4 separate regions of the Homo sapiens genome follow, and all the other regions are linked to region 1. Evidence: promoter capture Hi-C in 16 types of primary human blood cells and fetal thymus (Javierre and others, 2016). All regions are on one chromosome and are shown on one strand. Each heading gives the region's core, a stretch centred on a gene start or on the middle of the fragment in contact. The rest is flanking DNA. Distances are from core to core; before and after follow the strand shown.

Region 1 (3,787 bases), core at 163-2,662:
TCATCACCGATACCATCACCATCATCACCTTCACCATCATCATCTTCACCATCACCATCAACATCATGCACCCTAGACCTGCCTGGGCTCAACACTTTCCTCAAGATCAAAATCTCTGTTCACATTCTTCTAAAATTGACATGATGTTCAGAATCTTGAGAACAAAGTTCAAACAAGTGGCCTTATCCTGCAGTAGCTCTGAAGATACTCTCTTTGCTCTGACACTGACGGTCAGGTCATGCTTCATAGTACAGTCAAGTGTAGCTGGAAGAAGCCTGGACTTCAAACCCAGCTCTACTACTTTCAGACTCAGGCCAGTTTTAAAGAGAAGGAAGCAAGAATCAGAATGTGAAACAGTTTACCTTATCTTTAGAATGGGGATGATACTACCCATCTCATAAGCTGATTATAAAAATCAGAGAAGAAAATAAATGCATAAGCTCCAGATGAGTGCCTGGCCTTTATTGATGATTCAAAAGAGAACTATACTATGTATGGAATTGAGAATGTTACAAATGCAGTCACAGTTCTAGGAGAATGACTGAAGTTTCTTGGCAGTTCACAGTGCCATAGACTGATAATCCTGGATCAAACTAGCAACATACCACCTGTTACTGATGGCCTATTCCACACCCAGGTATGAGGGACCACCATGCAAGGGTAAAGGTGAAAGGCAGCAGTATGCCAGCTTATTGAGTGCTCACTGAATGCCAGGTATCATCCTAGTGTATTGCGTACATTACTGTACATTTGATTCTTACGGCAAACCTATGAGACAGGTCCTAGTTTGCAGCTGGGAAGACAGATGAAATTACTAGCAATGGCTACACAGCTAGTAAATGACAAAGCTGGAATCCACACCTGCTTCTCTGTGTAATTGCACAGTCTGAATTTTCTCTGCTGAATCCATACAAGGGAGTTTGAGAGGATCCACACATCCTGAGTATGTCTGCTGTTAATCTCTATTCTCCCCTCCTATTATTTTTTTTGTGTGTGTGGGTGCCCTGTGACTGAATTTATAACATTCTCAATTCCATACATAGTATAGTTCTCTTTTGAATCATCAGTAAAGGCCAGGCACTCATCTGGACCTTATGCATTTAGTCTCTTCTCTGATTTTTATAATCAGCTTATGAAATGACGGTGTATGGGTCTGGGACTCAGTGGTAAGTTTAAGACTTTGGAGGTGGCTGGCTTCAAAGGGAATCCTTTGGCTCTCTTGTCCCAGGCCCATAGGTGGCACTCTGACACCATCTGCTAGAAGCACAGCCATCGTCTAGAAATACATCAGGTAGTCCCATTCCCCAGAATGAGGCTGCCTCTAAGCCTGTCACTACGCACACACAATCCCACTGGGGGCAGAGACCTGGGGATGCCAGCTCACTCTCACTCCACCTGCATCAGATGTGTGCATTAGACAGGCTGTGGGGCTGTCCTGAAACTCTGCGCTTGCCCAGTGCCTTTGGATGGGTGCCCTGGGAAGGCTGGAAGCTGGGCGGGCCCTGCAGAAGAGGATGGAGCCACAGCTTTGCTGATTCCAGTGAAGCCCAAGGAAGGGCTCAGCTATCCAGGAAACCCTCCAGGGGAAAAGGATTGGGTTCTGGAATCACAAAGCCCAGGGTCTTAATCACAGCTCTACTGCTTACAAGCTTCGGACATTGAGTTGAACTCTTGACAGTCTGAGGCCCAGTCTCCATATCCGTAAAAAGGGAATAATGAGGCCTTCTTAGGTTTGCTGGGGGTGTTTGAACAGGTGAGTAAAATGCCAAGCACAGTACTTGGCACAGTCTGTACTCGGTAGGTGCTGGTGAGAGGCACATGGTCGATATCCACAGGGGTCAGCAGAGGGGCATGACACCGTGCTCTGGGTGAAAGAAGGAAGGACTGTCTTGGAGGTAGTCTGGGAGGACAGAGGGGAGAACTGGGATCTCATCCTCTTGCTGGCTGATCTTAGCCGATCAACCTTTTGGGTGAGTTTGCAGCCCCTAGGCCTTTCAATCCCCAATCCCTATATTTACATCAAGCTGGAACCAGCACTTTCAAGGCTGGTTGCTCTGAGGGTGGGGTTTGGCAGGGGCATGGTGGGGTGGAGGTTCTGGAAATCCCTTTAGAAGGGAAATTGGGAGAGTGGGCTCAAGGGATGCCTCTACTTGGAAACACTTTTTCTCTGAGACTTAATTTCTCCATGTTTCACAAAGAAAATACAAATGTTACATTTCCTCTTTCTCTCTGGACATCCTTGTCAAGACCATATGGGGGCCTCTCTGACTGGCAGCTCCCGCTAGTTCAGAGAACAGTGTTACTGGCAAATGCTGCTTTGGAGTGGTGACCTGTGCGATGGACTCATCCAGGCTGTCCCTTGGAGAAGGGAGGGTACGCAGGGCATGGTGCCCCTCTCTAGGGCCAGGGCTGAAGGAGGAGCCTGAGGCATGAACACGGGGGGGCAGGGCCTCCAGCATACCTTGTAGCTGTAGGGGCAGGCACAGCGGTACAGCTCCACAGGGTCCTGGGTGCATGTCCCGTTATTCTTGCACGGGCTGGAGAGGCAGGCATTGCATTTGGCCACAATGTTGATGTCCACTGGCCCTGGGCAGCAAAACCAGAGTACTGATGGCAGGTCCTGAGTGCGCTCACTGCCATACCTCCCTTCCCCTCTGCTCTGGGCCCTCCCTCAGCCAGCGCCAGCCCCTTCCCAACTCCATGCCCAGATGGCAGCTGGCTCTCCTCAGCCAGCACATCCAGTCCAGCTAGAGTCCCATTAATTCAGCCACTGTCCAGTGAGGAAAAATCACAGTGGGACATCATTCAGAAACACTTCTGCAGTCAAATCAATTACTGTAATTAGCCTGATCCGATTTTGGTGCTAATCTGCAAACAATGCACCATAATTAGAAACCCCCTGTGTATCTTTTCATATTCCAGGAAGCTCTGGGCCCAGGCTCCATTCGGACCTCCCATTTTTCTACCCACAAACACCCCTCCCCATGGAATAGTCTGTGCCAGGCTAAGCAGGGCACAGTGCTTGGGCCAAAGGCACACAGAGGAAGTCCCCCCTGGAAAACCTTGGAAGAAAGAAATGGATGGCCCCAGAGGACACAGCGATGATGCTGACAATGGACAGAAAACTGCTCAGGTACATGTTACGTCTGTGACCGTTTCAGCCGTGTGCTTGCTTTAGCTGCGAGCACTGGAGGGAGGTCAGGGTCCTTCCCAGAGCTTTGCAAAGGGGGCTGTGTCCTGCTGCTGCAGCCAGCTTTGACAATGAGCCCTGGATAAACAGGCCATATTTAGTGTCAGGACTATAAATGACCTTGGGGTTAACAGTTATCAACTTGGAGATGGGCTGAGATGAACTTCAGTGAGTGACTGTTTGTGGATGAGTAAAAAGAATGGCCTGATTGAGAGCTGGTACCAGGGGCTCAACCCGACTTCACATTAGAAGAGGAAGACTATCTGTCTTGGTTTGCTTGGGGCTGAGGGGGTTTGCAGGACACAGAGCTTTCAGTGCTAAAACCAAGAATGGCCCAGACAAAACCCAGATGACTTAGCTGCCTTACACTACCAGCTACAGTGTTGTTTTCTGTTTGTTTTTTTTTTTTTTTGAGATGGAGTCTCACTCTGTTGCCCAGGCTGGAGTGTGGTGGTGCAATTTCGGCTCACAGCAACCTCCACCTCCTGGATTCAAGCAGTTCTGCCTCAGCCTCCCAAGTAGCTGGGATTACAAGCATGCGCCACCACACCTGGCTAATTTTTGTATTTTTAGTAGAGATGGGGTTTCCCCTTGTTG
Region 2 (3,858 bases), core at 552-3,051, 860 kb after region 1:
TTGTGCAAATTAAGCTAGTTAATCCTTGTAATGCACTTAGTAGAGTGACAGGCAAATAATAGAGCTCTATAAATGTCAGCCAGTTTTATTGTATGGAAATATGTCAACTAATTTTATTAATCTTGAATTGGTAGATATTCAAATTATCTTAAAATATTTGATTTGATAAATGGCCCATCCATTAATATCCTTGAAAATACATCTTGTCAAATAATGTCCTAAGGATACATTCCCTCAAATATAATTGTTGGGCCAAAGGATATCCACACTTTAAATTTTGACAATTAATTTCAAGCTGCTCTTTAGAAAGCTTGTTCAAAGCCATGTAGGAATTGCCTGTTTTTGGGTAAAGGAAGGTCTATTTTCCCATTCTAGACATTAATTTTTGCCAAACCAGCAGTGAGAATTCTCATTACTCTTTTAATTCACGTTTCTTTAATATGTAAAAAGGTTTAAAATTTTCTAAGTGTTTTTTAATCATTCATATATACATTGAGATGGAGTTTGGTTCTTGTGGCCCAGGCTGGAGTGCAACGGTGTGGTCTCGGCTCACTGCAACTTCCGCCTCCCGGATTCAAGTGATTCTCCTGCCTCAGCCTCCTGAGTAGCTGGGATTACAGGCATGCACCACCACGCCTGGCTAATTTTTTTGTATTTTTAGTAGAGACGGGGTTTCACCATGTTGGCCAGGCTGGTCTCGAACTCCTGACCTCAGGTGATCCACCCGCCTCAACTTCCCAAAGTGCTGGGATTACACACGTGAGCCACTGCACCCAGCCAATCATTCATATTTTTAATGAATCATTTGATTGTGTCCTTAGAGGCTTAATGGATTTTTTGTTGTAGGGGTCAGGTGACTTATATGCCCTTTAAATTAAAGAGTCCAACAGCAAAAGGGAGTCTGACAATATTCCAAACATTTCTTTTTGCATTCTCAATGACTGCTACCAAATTTTTCTCAGTTTGAAAGAAATAGCTGGTTAAGAGGAATTTTCAGCCTTTGTGAGATGTGCATCTGTTTAGAAAAGTCTATGAAAAGGGAATAGTAAAAAGATGTGGGGAAAAAAAACAGAAGAAAGCTATTTTAAATGAGAATGAGTTACTGAGTTATCTATTTGATCATTTTTTATTTTGATTATATTCGACTTATTATTTTGACATGCCCTGAATTGTCAAGGAGAAAAAATGAGACTACTGTTTTGCTAAGTATTCCTGGTATGCATCTTTGTGGGGGTATGAATCACATAAGTCAACTTTTCAACTTTCCTAGGACCACTTGCCTCAGCATCACTCAAAGAGCTTAAATATCCAATTCTGGAATTTAATCCTCCAGACACTAAAGATGAGTCTTTAAAGATATATCCCAGATAGCTCCATCTTGTAAAGGCCCTTTCTAGGAGATTCTTACATGCACAAATTTTGAAAAAAAAACTTTGGAAAATACCCATTTAGTACCTTCAGTTCATTCGATTGTTCATCCATTTGTTCAAAGAGTAATTAAAATAATTACTGAGCACCTACAATGTGCCAGCCACTGTTCTGGAGATGGAACAGTGAATTAAGCCCATGGTCTAATAGGGCTTACATTATAATGAAGGAAGTCAAACAACAACAAAAACATGCATTGTTATGCAAGGTGGTAAGTGCTATTACAAAGACTAAAGCAAAGTAAGAGGAAAGACAGTGATGTGGGGTGGGTACTACTGTAGGTTTATTAATAATCTATGACTTTCATTTGTCTCTTTTTTTGAACAATAAAGTTACTTTAATATCAATCTTAGAGGCATTCCAACTTCTCAGTTCACCTGAGTTTGGGGCTGCCTCTCTTGTCCTCAACATATTCTTGCTTCCTTCCACCTTCACCTATTCCTGGAGACCTCTGGCCCTATGGGGTATTAGCAAGGTATAGACTCAGTGGCCAAAGGGCTAGCCTTCTCCATCAATAGGACCATGAACAAACTAATGTGTGGTAAATAAAGAGCCTAGACAGCAATCAAGCAGTGATAAAATATGAACCAAGGCAATATTTACAGCCTACCTATGCCAATAAATTATCAACTGAAATCTTCAAGAAGCACACAGGCCAAGACATGGTGGAAGGATCCAGCACATTGGACAGCGCCAGTAGCATGGTAAGGTACAGCTGCGGAGGTCCTGCTGGCAGCTGCCAACTAACTTCCTGAGCATTATATTGCTCAATGCTTGGGTTAAATGAAGGTCAAGGGGTGGGAGGTGGAAGAATGAACCCAGAGCTTCAAAAGACCCTGAACCAAATCTGGTTAAACCAAGCACTGCTCAAGGAGGTTTTAGACCCTAAACCTAAAATGCAGCCAGAAACCCATACCAACAGTTACTCCTCTTTCAGAAGTAGCTGCAACAGCAACAGCAATGGAAATAAATATCTGGCAAACAGATTATTTGGCAGTTAGAGTTGAGTATGCAATTTTGGGTATACAAGTAGAGGTCTGCTCAAGTAAGACCAGAGTTTATTCTCCTCCTTCTCCTTCCCTTTCCTCCCCTCCTCCTCCCACTCCCTCTCCTCCTCCTCTTCCTCTTCTACTTCCTTGTTTCTTCTTCTTCCCTTCTTCTTCTCCTCCTCCTACTTCTTCCTTCTTTCTTCTTCTTTCCTCTTTCTTCTTCTCCTCCTCCTACTTCCTCTTCCTTCTCCTTCTTCCTCTTCATCTTCTTCTGCTTTCTTCATCCTCCTCCCTCTCTTCTTCTCCTTTTTTTTTTAAGAGACGGTCTTGCTCTGTGGCCCAGGCTGGAGTACATGGAGTGCAGTGCCACAATCATAGCTCACTGCAGCCTTGAACTCCTGGACCCAAGCAATCCTCCTGCCTCAGCCTCCTAAGTAGCCGGGACTACAGGCATGCACCACCACACCCAGCCAATTAAAAAATTTTCTTTTAAGGAAAGGGGTCTTGCTATGTTGCCCAGGCTGGTCTTGAACCCCTGGGCTCAAGTGATCCTCCCACCTAAGCCTCCCAAGTAGCTGGGATTATAGGCTTGAGCCACAGCACCCAGTAGAGTTTCTTAACTGGTATCCATGCACTGGCTAGTCCATAAACCCTATGATATAAGCAAGCCTCTCTCTCTCTCTCTCTCTCTCTCTCTCTCTCTCTCACACACACACACACACACACACACAATCTATAGGTAGATAGAGATCTGTGTGTGCGTGTGTGTGTGTGTGTGTGTGTGTGTAGCAAGGGGGCTGTGTACATGTACATTATTTTTTCTGGGAAGAATTCTTATAGATTTCATCAGATTCTCAAAGGAGACTGTAACCCAGTAAAGCTTAGGAACTATCATCTTAGACCAAGGATCAGTATCCTTTAGAACTTGAGCTGGAATATATAATTCAGCCACAGAAGGCTCTTGGTTAGAATGAATGTCATGGAATACTACTTCCACACAAACCCCAGCTACTGACACTCACCCTCAGGGTTATAAAATGTCTCATGCCTTGTGAGTTCAGTCCTTTGGACAGGAAGCTAAAAGTTTCATGTTCGTTATATATAAAGATCCAGGTTAGGGATTTTAAAAAACACATTACTATGTTAGCTAGCTGTCACTGCACGGTAAACCACTCAAAATTTAGTGGTGTTATTTACTTATGAATTGGTAATGTCAGCAACATGGATTAGGTTCAGCTAGACGATTCTTTTGCCTAGGAATTACAAGGCATGGGTTTAGAATCCCACATTATTTTTGCCACATTCATTAGTCAAGGTGCATTACAAGGCCAACCCAGATTCAAAGTTGTTGAGAAACAGACTACTTCCTCATGGGATGAGCTGCAAAGTCACACTGCAAAGGGGCTGCTCATGGAAGAATCACTGCGGTCATCTTGAAAAC
Region 3 (3,759 bases), core at 855-3,354, 590 kb after region 1:
TGTCTGAATTAAGGTGTGAAAACCTGGATTCTAGCCCCTTTATTGCCGTCAACTTGCTGTGTTTTCTTGGGCAAGTCATTTTACACTTCCAAGCCTGGTTTTCGACATGTGTTAATAAAGATTCGGCTCTCACCCTTTAGGATTCTGTGGTTCAACCCAACAAAACAATCACTGCACTTGTGGAAAAACAAAAAAGTACTGAGCCAAAGGAAAAAGAGAGCACCAGGAATAAGGAAGACAGTTCTGCTGAGTCTCCACCCAGAGATGCACAAAGAAGTGGAAGAGAAGAGGAGGTGGGGTGATAGGAGGTGACTAGCAGGAATAACACACTCTAGGACAATGCTTGTCATCACTACTCTCTTCCAGCCTGAAGTCAAGAAAGCAGAGTGGAAGATCCAGGCGCCTACCCCTAAGGCACATGAGGAAGGGGAGAAGAGGGAGAGCAAGACACGGAGGGAATCTACCACACTAGAGCAAACCCTCACCCACTTCTCGGCTGGGTTCCCAGTAAGGCTTCCCACCCACTCCAGCGTTTCTCCCCCACTCCCTTACCCCACCCCAACTGCGGACTAAGAGGAGCCCACCCCGGAGTCCAAGTTTTGAATCTGGTCCGAGGATCAAAATGATAAATGTTTCCAAAACGTTGACATATGAAAAGTAAATATTTGGTTGCACAATTGGGGCTAAAACTAGGGTCAATCCACCCCATTCTCCAAGCGCCTCTCCATTCGCTGCCAAGCCCAGGATCTGAGGCTGAGTGCGGTTTGTAAGATTATAACGCTCGGTCTCATTTGAAGGGCTGTCAGCATTTCCATTCTCCGGCCCCTTCGTTCGGGGAGGCATTTATAACCGAGCCATAAAAAATTCACCCGGGGCTGCAACTTGGCATCTCCCAGACTGCGCTCCAGGCAGAGCGGGTTTTGCGAGCACCCACTCTGAATCTGTCCAGTTCCTCAGAAGTTAAACCTTCACCCACACTCTCAACTTTCCTTGCAAGGGCAGCCAGAGAGCGGCTGGCCCATTCTGATCTCCAAGCAGGTCAACAGTCTCGGGCCCTCTCTCCCGCCTCCGCGCCTTGACGGCCCATCATCCTATAGCTTTCTCCTTCGCCCGCCCCCCTTTTTAACGAGCGCAGACCCCTGACCCTCACCCTAAGACCTTGAGGCTGCAGTGCTCTTGCCTCCCCTCGCCTCTCCTCAGCTACTCCTTGGAAGCTGTCAGCGGGCCCTGCGTCTGGAACCCTCACCCCTGGAGAGGCACTGCTCTTTGCCCATCGCTGGGGGTTTCGAGACCTCTCTTTCCAGATCTGACCAAGCCTACAGACCCCCAGCTCGGAGAGTGAGGGATCGTATCCAGGAAGGGATGAGAATAGAGACTGCATCCAGGGAGGCCGAGGGGAAAGGACGGATCTGGCGCCTGGGGCCCCCTCGGTGGGACCCAGGTGGGTGGCCCGCGTGGGGTGGGGCAGGGGTACTCACAGGCGCTCAGCGTTGCGGGGGATGCCCCGAGGAACCGCGCGGAGGCCCAGCCCGTGGCAGTCCACGCTGGCAGCGGAGCAGGTACACTTGGTGGGGCAGGCGACGGCTGGAGGCCCACTCAGGACGCTCGCCAGCGCCAAGGCCAGCGCCAGGCGGGCGCGCACGGCGGCGCCGACCCCTGCCCACCCGGGGGCCATGGTGTGCAGGGCCCCGCTCCTGGAGGAGGCTGCCTCTGCGGGGCAAGACGCGTGGAGCCCGAGGAGGCGCGCGGGGAGCGCGGGCGGCCTGGGGAGCGGGCGGCGGAGTTAGCGCGGAGGAGGGGCGAGCTCGGTGCTCAGGCGCACGGGGCGCGGGCGGAGCGGGGCGCTCCGGGCGGCGGCGGCGGCAGCAACAGCAGCTCCATCGGCGGGGCCGGCGCTGCCCCGCTGCGCATCGCTGGGAGTGCCCAGGTGCGGAGCGCCCCCTGGCCCCGCTGGCCCGCGGGCCGGGTTGGGGACCTGGGGCGAGCGCAATGGGGCGTGGCGCCCGGGGAGGTCCGGCTTGGGGCTGGGCTGGGGAGCGCGGCGGCTGCGGCTGGGGCACGGGGCGGCCGGGTGAGCTGGCCGGCGCTCGCTCTCTCCATTCAGTGAGCACGGCAGACACCGGAGACGCGGGGCCCACCCCTCCGGCCCCCCCCCGACCAAGAAACGCCAACTCCGCCTCCCATTGGCTGCGCCGCGCGTCATGTCGACTAAGTTGGGAACTTTGCTGGAGCGACCGAGAGCCTGGAGGGAGGAGGCAGTAGAGGAGGGAGAGAGAAGGAACCAGGGAAGGAAAGGGGCTCGGCCAGCAGGGCCCCTGGAAAGAAACACTGAAACTCATTCACTGTTAAGATCCAAGGACGGATAAGGCTCCTGACACTTTTTTTTTTTTAATTTTTGCACTGAGCTGAGCACTCTACTCATATTCTTTACTTAAGTCCACGATCTTCCAAGGGGTCGTCTGAAAACAGCTCAGAGAAGTGAAGCGACTTGCTGGAGGTCGCACAGCTGCTAGGGACGCCAAACCATGGCAGTGTCGCCCACGAAGCCGCTTCCCTACCGCACCTAGTACTCATGGCAGAGATCCACAATTTTGCCTGAAGAGCCTTGGTTGACACCAATGTACTCCACAGCTACACACACACACACACCGTGGTCCATGTTGTTGAGGTCACTGCTGGCAAACCTTACCCGGAAACTTGCCCTGCTTTGCCCAGACCCAGCGCTTGGTGGACTGGTAAAAGTAGTGATGGCAGCGACTTGGACCCCTGGATTGACAATGCCTTGTTCCATCCTCGGGTTTCTGCTTCCTGACTGGGTGACTCTGGGCCAATCGTGTCATCTCTGAGCCTTCGTTTTCTCAAATCCGGGGCCACAGTCCTACCTGGCCTCACCTCCCTGGGTTGTTTGGAGCATCACAGAAGAGAACGTGTTTTTGCAAAAGTCATTCGCAGACGAGGCATCCCTTCTGTCCCCAGCGCCTTCTTTCTTCCAGCGCCCGCTTTAAATTGGCTAGGTCTGAGCTTTTCCAGATGCCAGTGGGGAGGGGCGTGTGCGTTAGAGGCTCCATAAATACTTGTAGGAATGATTTTGTTTGTTTGTTTGAAAGGAAAGGGCAGGAACTGGAGGAAGTATTGCCCAGATTTCCTTGAGGTCCCCTCACACTGAGAAGGCCTGAATGAGCCCTGCATATATATACACACACACTGGTGCCTACGTATTCACAGCCACGCACACACTCTCACATACTCAGGCTCACACACACCCATTTATACACCGGCAATCACACACACGTGTACATGCATGCTCGCACACACACTCACATAGTGACAACTATACTCCTGAGAGCGCTTCTCTTTTCTTTCATAAGAATACTATTCTGATTTCTTCTACCTCATTTTCCTTCAAGGAAACTTTCAACTACTTGACCACATCCTGTGAATATATAGTAGAGTTGTAGATTTTATTGTATTATACTTAGCAGATTTTCAAAGTCTTAGCTTTGGGCACCCACTTGCGCGCGCGTACACACAAACACACACATACGCACACTCACTCAAACACACACACTCGAGTCCCTTCATCATTCATAAACACATTAGGTGCAATTTACTGCTGTTATTCTTGGGAACGGCTTTCTGTACAGATGCTGTTGTTATCGCCCCCTGGTGGCTGGCGAGGGTCTATGCTCCGGTCTTCAGGGTGACTTCGGTATTTAAGAACTCTAAACATCCTTTTATCCCTTTGCTCTGAAGCTTTCC
Region 4 (3,720 bases), core at 645-3,144, 610 kb after region 1:
AAACTAAATATGTGCAAGATTTGATGCTGAATATGACAAAATTTTGATGAAACTAAAATGAGCTTATAAAATGATTGATGTAACTGTGCTCATGGATTGGAAGACTCTATGTTGTTAAGATGTCAGTTTTCTCAAATTGCTCTATATGTTCAATGCCATTCCAATCAATATCCCAACATAATATTTCTTTTTGGAGATTGACAGAGTATTCTAAAATTTATATAGAAGAACAAAAGACCCAAAAGAACTAAAATAGGTAATTGTGAATAAGAAGAACAGAGTTAGAGGATTCACATTACCTGGTTTTAAGACTTATCATAAAGCTATAGTAATCAAGAGAGTGTGGTATTGGGTAAAAGAGAGACACAGAGATTGAGAGAATAAAGCCAATATAACAGCAGCCTACAGATTGGGAAAAGTATTTACAAACTATGTATCTGGTAATGGGTTAATATTTAAAATTTATAAAGAACATATACAACTCAATAGTAGAAAAACAAATAATCCAATTAAAAATAGGCAAAGGACCTGAACAGACATTTTTCCAGAGAAGACATAAAAATGGTTAACATGGATATAAAAAAAGTGATCAATATTATTAATCTTCAAGAAAATGCAAATGAAAACCCTGTAAGGTACCACCTGACACCCATTAGGATGGCTATTATCAAAAAGTCAAATGATAACAAATACTGGCAAGAAAATGTGGAGAAAAGGGAACCCTTGTACACTTTTGGTGGGACTGTTGAGTGGTACAGCTATTATGGAAAACAGTAAAGAGACTTCTACAGAAATTAAAAATATAACCACCACATAACCTAGTAATTCCTCTTCTGGGCATATCCCCAAAGCAAATGAAATCACCATCTCATAAAGATACCTGCACTCCCATGTTCATTGCGCATTATTCAAACAGTCAAAATGTGGAAACAACCCAAGTGTTCATCAATGAATGGATTAAAAAAATGTGGTATATATAGACACCATGGAATATTACTCAGCCTTAGATAAGGAGATCTTGCCATTTGCCACAACAAGGATGAATCTGAAAGATATAACGCTAAGTGAAATAAGCCAGACACAGAAAGAAAAATCCTGCATGATCTCACTCATATGTGGAATCTGAAAAATAAAAGAAAAGAGTCAAATATACAGAGATAAGACAGTTGTTACTAGGGGCAGGGTTGGAGGGAGGAAGCAGGAAGAAGTAGGTCAGAGAATGCAAAGTAGTAGATATGTAAGTTGAACAAGTCTAGAGATTTATATCCAACATGAAAACTATAGGTAATAAAATAAAATTGTGCTATATGTGGGATTCCTGCCAAATGAGTAGATTTTAACTGTATTGCCCCAAAAATAACAACAAAAAAGGGTAACTATGTGAGATGATGAATTATTAATTTGCTTCACTAGAGTAACCATTTTACTATCTGTATGCATCCCATAACATCACGTTATACACCTAAAATATATATGATAAATTTCATTTTTAAAAATGATAAAAAATTTTAAAAAGTAAAAGAATAGAATCAAGAGTTCAGAAATAAACACATATATATATGTTCCATTCCAACCAAAATGCCAATGTAGTTTAAGGAATACAAATCTTTTCGGCAGTGGATGCTGGAACAATTAGCTATCTATAGGCTGAAGAACTAACCTTGGCCCTTTTTTTCTGCACCATATGCAAACATTCACTTGAAATGGTATATATATATGTGCTAAATGTATAAAAACTTCTAGAAGAAGACACAGAAAATCTTTTCAAGCTTGAGTTAGGCAAAGATTTTAAAAATAAGATACAGAAAGCACAAATCAAAGCAGAAGAAAATAATAAACTGGAGTTAATCAAAATTTAAAACATCTGTTCTTTGAAAGATATTACAAAAATAAGAAGACAAATTACAGTCCAAGAGAAAATATTTGCAAAACATTTATCTGACAAGGGGTTTGTGTCCATAACATATAAAGAACTCTCAAAAATCAGTAAGACAAGCAACTCAATAAAAAGAATGGGTAAAAGCTTGAATAGACACTTCATCAAAGAAGAAATATAGATGGCAAATAAACACATAAAAAGAAATTAAACATCATTAATCATCAGGGAAATGCAAATTAAAACTACAATGAGATACCACCACATACCCTTTAGAATGGCTAAAATTTTAAAAGTGCTGTTGAAGATGTAGAGCAACTGGAAACTTCCTACACATTACTGATGGGAATGCAAAGTGATAACATCTTTGGCAGTTTCTAGTAAAGTTATGCATTCAGCTACTATATGACCCAGAAACCCCACTCCTAATATTTTAACCATGAAAAATCAAAACCGTATGTCCACAGAAGACCTGAATAGAGCTGCTTATGGAAGTTTTATTTATAATAATTAAATGATAGAAAAACTCAGGCTGGGCGCGGTGGCTCACACCTGTAATCCCAGCACTTTGGGAGGCCGAGGCAGGCGGATCACGAGGTCAGGAGTTCAAGACCAGGACCAGCCTGGCTAACATGGAGAATCCCCGTCTCTACTAAAAATACACAAATTAGCTGGGCATGGTGGCAGGTGCCTGTAAACCCAGCTACTCAGGAGGCTGAGGCAGGAGAATCTTTTGAAAATGGGAGGCAGAAATTGCATGAGCCAAGATCATGCCATTGCACTCCAGCCTAGGCGACAGGGAGAGATTCCTTCTCAAAAAAAAAAGAAACAACTCAAATGGTCATCAGTTGGTGAGTGGACAGCCAATTTGTGGTACATGAATTTAATGGAACATAACTTAGCAGTAAACATAAAGCATTGATACAGGCAACAACATAGATGAATCTGAAAAACATTCTGTTAGTGAAAGAAGGCACAAAAGTTACAAATTCTCTTACATTTATATTGCATTCTGAAAAGGCAAAAAGCAGACCCAAAACTAGATTTTTGCTTGCTAGAGAGTGGTGGAGAGGAGAGATAATAGGCTATAAAAAGACATAAGGACATTTGCGTGATGGAAATGTTCTATAGCTTAGTTATGATTTTAATTACACAACTGTATACACTTTTCAAAACTCATCACAGTATACTCTTAAAAAGGACACATTTTCCCATCTGTAAATATTTCAATCAACCTTACAAAAGCAAACAAAACTCACCTAAACCTCAGTTTTCTCATTTTAAAAATTGTAGCCACTATTATTATTTTCTTAAAAATGATCCTTTTCCATGGAAAGATTGTCTTGGTCAGGATTCCTAAGTCATTGCTTTGATTATCACTTGCCATTTTGTGTCACTGATAAATAAAGATAAAACGCATTTATGAAAAACATCTATTACTATGCTCCATACACACTGGCAACTTGCATAACACTTAAATGAATATGACATTTAATAAAAGAAACAGAAAAGAGTCAATAATCTTTTCAGAAAGAAGCAGACACCAGACTCCAGACAATGGTGGAACAATTTGCTTTTAAATTCATGCCCTGCCCTCTTTTCTTACTTTGCAATGGAATGTTTGTTGACTGGGTTGAAGAAGAAGTCTCAAAAATGTTACTGTTTATTTCTCATGGCCTAGGAGGTATCAGGGTGCTGACATATAGCAGTGTGACTTGTAAATGCATTTTCATAGCTGATAATAATTACTCTCAGTAATTGAGTCTGTTTTGTGATTTCTTCCCTTTTATTTCCCCTGAAATTACTCCCTCACTGGCCCTCAGAACTCAACCTATGTTTGCATC

Evidence for each region. The method cuts DNA at HindIII sites, captures the fragments that hold promoters and counts their contacts. A CHiCAGO score of 5 or more calls a contact.
Region 2: a fragment that was not itself captured here is called in contact with the fragment with the promoter of SLIT3-AS2 in region 1 in 3 of 17 cell types (M1 macrophages, endothelial precursors and M2 macrophages); the score reaches 7.4 in M1 macrophages.
Region 3: a contact is called between the fragment with the promoter of SLIT3 here and the fragment with the promoter of SLIT3-AS2 in region 1, in 7 of 17 cell types (M0 macrophages, M2 macrophages, M1 macrophages and 4 more). The highest score is 14.6, in M0 macrophages.
Region 4: a contact is called between a fragment that was not itself captured here and the fragment with the promoter of SLIT3-AS2 in region 1, in 2 of 17 cell types (M0 macrophages and M1 macrophages). The highest score is 5.7, in M0 macrophages.

The regions. Positions count from the first base shown.
Region 1 is chr5:168,705,515-168,709,301 of GRCh38, forward strand. It overlaps SLIT3-AS2 (SLIT3 antisense RNA 2), which reads left to right and starts at 1,413. Exons shown (of 7, transcript NR_130737.1): 1 at 1,413-1,753; 2 at 2,923-3,133. It overlaps SLIT3 (slit guidance ligand 3), which reads right to left. Exons shown (of 36, transcript NM_003062.4): 26 at 2,462-2,586. The HindIII fragment of the contact is 12,206 bases long and covers 1-1,647 here.
Region 2 is chr5:169,565,152-169,569,009 of GRCh38, forward strand. All of the region lies in intron 2 of LOC105377714 (a long non-coding RNA gene), which reads right to left. Among named protein-coding and RNA genes, the nearest start is that of SPDL1, 17 kb to the right of the region's middle. The HindIII fragment of the contact is 2,987 bases long and covers 309-3,295 here.
Region 3 is chr5:169,299,035-169,302,793 of GRCh38, forward strand. It overlaps SLIT3 (slit guidance ligand 3), which reads right to left and starts at 2,105. Exons shown (of 36, transcript NM_003062.4): 1 at 1,479-2,105. The coding sequence starts at 1,675. The HindIII fragment of the contact is 7,800 bases long and covers 1-3,751 here.
Region 4 is chr5:169,317,689-169,321,408 of GRCh38, forward strand. No RefSeq gene overlaps it. Among named protein-coding and RNA genes, the nearest start is that of SLIT3, 18 kb to the left of the region's middle. The HindIII fragment of the contact is 254 bases long and covers 1,768-2,021 here.